Regions from separate parts of the Homo sapiens genome. Here region 1 is linked to region 2. The links are contacts of gene promoters, found by promoter capture Hi-C in blood cells and fetal thymus (Javierre and others, 2016). All regions are on one chromosome and are shown on one strand. The core of a region is centred on a gene start or on the middle of the fragment in contact, and the rest is flanking DNA. Distances in the headings are between cores, read along the strand shown.

Region 1 (4,223 bases), core at 848-3,347, 940 kb before region 2:
TTCTTATTCAGCTCTGTTAGTACTCATTCCTCCCCTGCCTGTTCTTCTTCCACAAAGAGTCCTCAAGTCCTTGGCTCCTGTTTTTGTCCCATCCCACAAGTACTGCCCTGCACATTTTTCTTTGTGAACTCACATGGTTAATTATCTGAGCCACTTCCTTGTCAGAACTCTGGGTTCCCTCACTTTCTCTCATTTGGCTGGACTCATCCATCAGAAAACTAACTCTGGATGTATGAGACCTCTGTCTTCTCAGCTCCTACTTCTGGGCTGCTGCTCCTGCTGCTAGAAGAAGTGTAGATTACACACACTGTGCCACTGCGATTAGCTCCTCCTTCAAGAGCTCATTACTTGCCTTAGCCTTCACCACCTTCCTCAAGCCCTATACCACCCCTGAGTTCTCATCCCTGGCATGTGGTTTTTCCTCCTAGGGACATTGAGGCCATTTCCTTACTTCCTTTCTCCCTTTAATTTGCTCTTATTGAACTTTGTCCTTGCCAATCCCCTGAGATCTCTTTCCGTATGCGTTAATAGCATCCATCTTGTAAAATCTGATGGTTGGTTCTCAGTCCTCTTTCAACTTGAACTTTTAGTGATATTTGACACAGTTGGTTCCTTTCCCTTTCTTGACCACTTTCTTCATTTGGTTATGGGGACACTGCAGAAGTCTTTGACTTCTTTTCACCCATTGGCTGTTCCATCTTATCTTCTTCCCTAGCTCCTCTTTTTTTTCTGACGTCCAAATATTTGAATGTCTCAGAGCTCACTTCTCAGCCTCATCTCTGCTCTTTCTTACTCAGTAAGAAATCTCAGCTGGTGTTCTGACTTTAAATGCCAACTATAGGCTGATCATTCTGGAATGTGCATTTCTATATGCACTTTCTGTCCTGAATTCCAGACTTGTATTTCCAGCTGCCTACTTGGCATATTCCCTTGGGTCTCTAGTAGACATCTCAAACTCCACACGTCCAAAACAAAGCTCTTGATTTCTCCATGTCAAATTGCTCCTTCATGGCTTCTCCATCCTTGTTGCCCAAGCCAAAATAGAGAGTCACCCTTGATTCGTCTCTCTCTTACCTTCCACTCTACTCTATCAGAAGAGGTCCGTAATCCATTTACTTTGCTCCAGACCACCATCATTTCTCAGTGGAACAACTATCCCTGCTTTCGCTATTCCCCTGCCTTCATTTTTCATACAGAAGCCAGGGAGATCACTTAGCAACTTACATTAGATAAGGTCATTCCCTTGATTAAAACCTTCCACAAGCTTCCCATGATACTCAAAATCTAGGTTCCCAAACCTTACTTCCAAAGTCCTGTGTGATCTGGCCTCTGGCCGATCTCTCTAATCTTACCTTATTCCCTTTTCTCCTTTGCCCATTCTATTCTAGCTTCACTGGCCTGCTTTGGATTTTTTCAACCTCGTAAGCCACTTCTTTCCCTGATTTTCACATGGCCTTAGAAAGTCTAAATGACATCTCAGAGAGGTTTCCCTGACCACTCATTCTAAAGGAGCCCGACACCTATCACATCACCATATTTTAATTGTCTGCATAACACTTATCTCTGTTGGATATTTTTCTTGTTTATTTGGTATTGTCTGCTCCAACTAGAAGGTCATCAGAAACTTTGCTTTGTTCATTCATGTATTCTCTGCACAATTTGACATGGGTCATTTACAAGATGATTGTATACGTCAGTCCAAGGCATGGGAGAATAGGCTGGAGATGCCGTAGGCTGACACCTTATGTAATACTTCACCAAGACCTGCTGATTTTACCTCCTAAACATTTTTCTATTCCAGGGCTGTCCCTCCATATAAAAGAGATGGAGAAGGCACAAAGCTGTCATCATTTCTTTATTACTTCAACAGTTTCCATCTGGTCTTCCTGCCTTCAGTCTTATTTTCTCCGATCCATTCTCTGCCACAGTTCCTAAAACATAAGTCTGGCATGTCACTCTCCTGTTTAAAACTCTTCAAAGGCTTTCAGTCATTTGCATGATAAAGTCATTAGCCTAACAGTATATTCTGTGTTGTGATAGGTGGTCTCTGTCTCTATGTCCTTCTTGTTTTATTCTCCAAGAATACCCAGCTGCTTGTAGGGCACTGTGAATACTTTGCTTTCCCTGTTTCTGTGTCTTTGCTCATGTGCTCCACTCTGCCTTGGACTGTCTGGCCTTTAGAAGCCATGTGACCTTGGGATATCACTTATTCTTCTGAACCTTAGTTTCCTAATAATCATAATTCTTCACAGGGGCAACGTGAGGGTCAAATGATATCATGTACAGAGAAAAAAGTACAATGCCTGTTGTATAGCATGTGCTCAAAAAATTGCAATTGTATTTTTCAACAATGTTAATGTTGACACTAATACTACTAAACCATAATATAGTGGAGCTAGTGTAAGATTTCTGGTACTTTCTTGGGTTACTTGCCTTGGGAGAAAGTAACCAGATCTGACTAAAAATTTGAACTACCAGCTCTGATTTTCCAGTCCTCCTTCCCTGTCCTTCCTAGAAAACTTGAAATCCACATAATTCTCACCCAAGGATTCTCAAATCTGCAGGGACAAGACAAGCACTTGTTCCTCATTGGGCCCTGGGACCCTCCCCGGCTGTGCTCTCGGGTGAGGGGGTCAGTTGGGATTGTCCAGCATTTCTGTGTCTTGGGAATGGAAATTAAGACTTCGGAGTTTTCCTCCAGTCTTTCTCATAGACTTACTGAACAGCCAGGTTTCAGAGACATGCTGGAGCCCCCTGGTGGTGGCTTCTGGGCACGGTAATAGCCATAACTGCAGGGTGAATGGAACCTGTGAAGTTCAAAGTACTTTGTCACTATGTTATCTTGTTATCACTGCAAGGAGTGTTAGGGATCTACTTGGCATCTTGTGGACTGACATATGAGGGAGGATAATGACATGTTCTAAGCTTCCAGGGTGTGGTGGGGATGATGGGAAAGGGCTTTGGTGCCAGTGGGATGGGTTAGCCTGGAGTGCTCCCCAGGGACAAAAAGCAAGGTTGCTGTACATAATGACAACCTTTGACTGGATCAGAATGAGACCCAGGTGAGCCAGGTCTCCTGGTGATTTTTATCTACTTTCAAGGTTTAGCTGCTCTGAGCTCTGTGAATTTCAAGTAGTCCAACAGTCAGTTTGGCGAATACATTCATTTACTTAGAGACTTAATAAATTAAGCCAATAAATACCTACCATATACTAGGTGTTAAGTGCTGTGGCAAGTGCTGTGGCAAATTCTGAGATGAATCATTGCCCCCACCTTCCACAAACTCACAATCTGGTGGGGATTATGAGACTCATAGACAAATAATTGAATGGAAGAACATTCCATGCTCCTGGATAGGAAGAATCAATATCGTGAAAACGGCCATACTGCCAGAGGTAATTTATAGATTTAATGCCATCCCCATCAAGCTACCAATGACTTTCACCACATAATTGGAAAAAACTACTTTAAAGTTCATATGGAACCAAAAAAGAGCCCGCATTGACGAGACAATCCTAAGCAAAAAGAACAAAGCTGGAGGCATCACACTACCTGACTTCAAACTATACTACAAGGCTACAGTAACCAAAACAGCATGGTACTGTACCAAAACTGAGATATAGACCGATGGAACAGAACAGAGCCCTCAGAAATAATACCACACATCTACAACCATCTCATCTTTGACAAACCTGACAAAAGCAATGGGGAAAGGATTCCCTATTTAATAGATGGTGCTGGGAAAACTGGCTAGCCATATGTAGAAAGCTGAAACTGGATCCCTTCCTTACACCTTGCACAAAAATTAATTCAAGATGGATTAAAGACTTAAATGTTAGACCTAAAACCATAAAAACCCTAGAAGAAAACCTAGGCAGTACCATTCAGGACATAGGCATGGGCAAGGACTTCATGACTAAAACACGAAAAGCAATAACAACAAAAGCCAAAATAGACAAATGGGATCTAATTAAACTAAAGAGCTTCTGCACAGCAAAAGAAACTACCATCAGAGTGAACAGGCAACCTACAGAATGGGAGAAAATTTTTGCAATCTACCCATCTAACAAAGGGCTAATATCCAGAATCTACAAAGAACTTAAACAAATTTACCAGAAAAAAATCAAACAACCCCATCAAAAAGTGGGCAAAGGATATGAACAGATACTTCTCAAAAGAAGACATCTATGCAGCCAACAGACACATGAAAAAATGCTCATCGT
Region 2 (4,398 bases), core at 585-3,084:
TGTTCTCACTCATAGGTGGGAATAGAACAATGAGAACACCTGGACACAGGGTGGGGAACATCACACACCAGGGCCTGTCGTGGGGTGGGGGGAGGGGGGAGGGATAGCCCTAGGAGATATACCTAATGTAAATGACGAGTTAACGAGTGCAGCACACCAACATGGCACATGTATACATATGTAACAAACCTGCAAGTTGTGCACCCTAGAACTTAAAGTATAATAATAAAAAAAATAAAAAATAAAAAAAGATTGGTTTGGGAGCACATATGTAAAAGGTTTTTCTAAAATATGAAACACGAAAATATATTATTCCAATATTATTCTGAAGCCAGACAACTCCCGCAATGACAAAATCCCTTGCTCTTCAAGCGCGACTGTACCCCCTTCCCAAAAACGATTTATGCATTTATGGTTAAAGTTCAAATGAAGCTGATTTAATAGAAATAATTTAAAAATAATAATGAGAATATATGGACAGCTTACTATAGGGTGAGATGATGTTGTAATTGACTTTAAAACATTTGGAACTAAATGTCAGTCCTAGGAAATTATGCACTCCTGTAAATTGTGCTATTAAGGGTTAGGTTTCTTTCAACACTTTAGATATTTGATCAGAAGCATATTTAAGAAAAACGAAAGCTGCCCTTGCTTTTGACCCCAAGTTGAGAATTTTCTATCATTGGTGCAGTGCCTGAAAATACGATCCAATCTTCATTTAGTCATTTGTACGGAGTCTGGAAAGGCTAAAACATTGCAAATAATAGGACCTACTCGTACTTTCCCCGCTTAAGAAGCGTATCTATTTCAAGGTGCCTATTTGGAAAAACAGACTCCAGGTCTCCACCACAGAACTTAACACAAAATGAAAGCACACAACCCGCAGCCTTTGGCTGTGGTGTTTTTGAAAACAAGGAAGGGCACAGAACCATGGCTTAAAATACCCGAAAGCTGCAGCCCACAAAAAGAGTATTTCAGGGCGGGTTGGCCGTTCCCTGCAGGCAAACGTTCGGTGCAGGCGGCCGGGCGTTCCTGCGGGGAGGGCGCCACTGTGATGCAAAGACATCAAGCGGACTTTCAGCTTGCCCGTGGACGCTGCGGTGCCGCTTTCCCTATCCAGTCCTGTTCCCGCGGCTCCCCAGCCTACCCCGGGCCGACCAAGAGGTCCGGCGGGGTCTGCGCCGCATCAGCGCCCGCTCGTCAGGCCTAGCCCTCCGCACAGCCAAGGCCGACCAGACCTCTAGACACTCCGTCGTCGGGTGTGGGGCGGAGAAGTAAAGGGCGAGTTTTCTTCCTAGATTCCAGTGGGAACCAAGAAAAGGAGTTGGCAGCTGTGTAAACTGGACCTGGGGTGCGGCCTCCGGGAACAAAAGAGGTGATAAATGCACAGCAGCCGAGGTTCTGCGTGCTCCTTTGGGGCCACTACGAATCCCCGTGAATCACCCCAGCCCGGGCAGAGGGCCAGAAATGATGAAAATGCAGATTCATGGCTTCCACTCCAGCCCTACAAGATCACCAACCGTATCTGGCAGTACCCAGGAATCTGCATTCTCGACAAGCGTCCGCGCCGACGGGGCTAGTGAAGTTTGAGAACAATTGCTTCCTACCCAGCCGCTCCGCTATCACCTAGGTAGCACGGCCGCTGCGGCTGAGGCTGTGACTGCGGCTGCGGCTGGGCCGCGCCTCAACCGAGCTTGGTCCTTTCCTTTGGTCCCGCCCCGCTGCTCAGCGCGGATTGGTGGCGGGACGCAAATCTGGCGCTGATTGGGCGGCGGCAGAGTCGCTCGTGAAGATTGTAGGGTTCGGGTGCTCTAGAGTGCTAAATTTATCTTCAGACCGGCGACCGCGCCAGCCGCGAATCGGATCTCTATGGAGATGGCCTAGGCGATATCCCTGAGCTGAGAGCATCACCCTGTCCCCGAATCCTTCTTTCCTCTCTGTTTTGTTTTTCATTCCCCTCCCTCTCTCCCCTCCCCCTCCAGTCCACGACGACTGGCTGTTGACCCTGTTCAGGCCTCGGTGAAGGTGAGAAGCAGAGCCGCCGCCGCGGCTAAGCGGTGCGCTCTGAAATGGCCGCTTCCTGGAACTGCCTAAGATGGCGGTCGCGGGCTCTGCTGTGGACCGCGGCGCTGCTGTGCAGCCCAGCCGCGGCAAAATCCGTTCTCTCCATCGCTGATGGAGATGAAATAGAGAGATGGTGTTGGGTGCTGAGACGTTTTCATGTGGTCGTTAGCGCAGGCGGCCGCCCGGGGACGCGAGAGAAGACCTGAGGCGAGGGTGGGCTGCGACTGGTAGGGAGCCCCCCAGTCGTGGCAATCTGTGGGCAGCGCGCACCTGTGACAGGGAGGAGCTGAGGGATAGTTGGCCCTGGCTGCACATCCAGGTGACCGTTTAAAAAAGCATTTAGGTGTTGGAAGGAGCATCTGTTCCCACCTTTTTGGCTGGCCTGCACTCAGATCCTGTCCTCCTGACCCTGAGGGTATTGTTCCCAGCCGGAACCGCCCGAAGATAGGGGAGAAAGGATTGTGATACTTGTCAGTTTAACCGGAAGGAGACTAAAGACGGAAGTTTTCCCCGCTCTTCAGGGAGTGGAAAGGAAACTTTACTCTCAAAGGAGTCCAGATTCTTTGTCCTCGAGAAATTCGGGGAAACACCTTCGAAGAGGTGGGGTTGAGGACCTTCTTTCTGAAAACAAAAGCTTCCTACTCTTCTGTGTCCTCTGGCAACGAGAGGGATCCTGATCTTTTACGTGAACCAGCAGCTCCACAGAGTTCTCCGTTGCAAAATCCAAAAGGAGACTGTGGAAGGAGAATCTGCTTTTTTGCTCCCAATAAGAAGCAGGGCTTTATGCTGTTGCTAGTATGAGACCCTCGACTTTCTGGCAGTTATAATCCATTGTTCATCCGTTTCGCTGCATAACCCAACTCCTAGTAACGAGATTTTTTAGTAGTTGGGGAATTAAAAGTATTCAGGAACACCCAAGTAATGGCTAGACACATGGGCTATGCAGTCAAACTTTTTGGGCTCTGAACTTGGTTTTTCACTTACAAGAGGTGTTAGCGAGATGTGTTAACCTGTGTCTGTTTATCTCTAAAGTGGGGTTATTAATAATCCTTGTGTCTTCATAGATGAGATAATCTATATGAGGGATTTAGCAGTAATTGGCATACAGTAAACAATCATCAGTCATTAGACATTGTTTACCTGAGGAGATTGGTCACTGGGGGGCTAAAAATGATTGTAGTGAAAGAACTGCTTCATGTAATAGTTCTATGTATAATTCCATTTTAGATTCAAGACCTAGTTTTAGAGACATTGATGAGGTTGTACTTTTAAAAATTAGGCTTAGTTTCAAGTTCTAGAAAGTGTGGTGGTGGTGTTGTTTTAACATGTTTCTATGAAGTCAGTAGGTGGGGGAACATCTCAAAGCATCTAAATTGCCAAGATATTGAACAGGATGAAAATGTTAGAATTTTTACTATGCTAGGCGTCTTCTCTTTCAGTCCAAGATCTGCATTGCAGTAAAGAATCATTTTCACTGCTTAGATCCAGAAAGAATAAACCCATCTTACGGGTTTATAGTTAGTTCTGCTTGTTACTGTATCTAATTTTAATTTTTCTCATTCTAGGCTTTTGGTTACTCCCCTTCCCACCCCATCCCTTAATTTTATTCTTTTGAAGAGTGCATTTCAAGCTGCCAAGGTGGAGAGAGGGATTACAGAAAGGAGAACACCTTATTTCAGGTATCTTATCCTCTACCCCTTAATAGGAGAACCATTTTGACTCAAGATCTAACATGAGAATACAAAACTTACTCTATAGCCAGGTTATAAAGTTTAAATCAAAAGTAGCTATATTTGGACAGACATAATTTGTATGCCTTGATTTATAGAGTTAATAGTATTCTTTAGCAATCCTTAGATTGCATTATCCTTTTAATTTTGATTTGTTTTATTATATGAGAAATAAACCTCTTAAATGAGAGTTTATTTTTTTTTTTTAGGTCCTGGTTAAGTCGTCACCTGTTGTATAAATAGAATGCAGAGTTATCTGTAAAAATATACATTACTTTCATTGAGTCTTAATTTGGATAATATAAACGTTTATATAATTTAAGTCCAGAGAAACAGTACCTAACTTTTGATATACAATTTATTCTTCATTGTTAACGCATAACATTTAGGATACAGTAGAATTATGTATCTCGCAAAACTTGGAACTGTGTGTGTGTTTAATTCACTTCTTCAGAATTGTTGCTAGCCCTGAAGGGACTTCAGATATATAATAGTATCAACAACTAATACATCTAATGACAGTAGGCATCAAAAGCTAAAAGAGATTTCACAATACTACATACCATGAGACAGGGCTGATAAATTATGGCCCATGCTGTCTGGT

What was found. Contacts are between HindIII fragments. The CHiCAGO score rates a contact against its expected background, and 5 or more counts as called.
Region 1: a fragment that was not itself captured here is called in contact with the fragment with the promoter of ZBED5 in region 2 in 3 of 17 cell types (naive CD8 T cells, naive CD4 T cells and activated CD4 T cells); the score reaches 8.3 in naive CD8 T cells.

What each region holds. Positions count from the first base shown.
Region 1 is chr11:11,797,541-11,801,763 of GRCh38, reverse strand. No RefSeq gene overlaps it. Among named protein-coding and RNA genes, the nearest start is that of MIR8070, 16 kb to the right of the region's middle. The HindIII fragment of the contact is 1,661 bases long and covers 1,267-2,927 here.
Region 2 is chr11:10,855,489-10,859,886 of GRCh38, reverse strand. ZBED5 (zinc finger BED-type containing 5) reads left to right here and starts at 1,834. Exons shown (of 3, transcript NM_001143667.2): 1 at 1,834-2,025; 2 at 3,630-3,743. It overlaps ZBED5-AS1 (ZBED5 antisense RNA 1), which reads right to left and starts at 1,670. Exons shown (of 3, transcript NR_034137.1): 1 at 1,521-1,670. RefSeq lists enhancers at 362-997, 1,399-1,488, 998-1,635, 1,789-2,168. The HindIII fragment of the contact is 21,619 bases long and covers 1-2,700 here.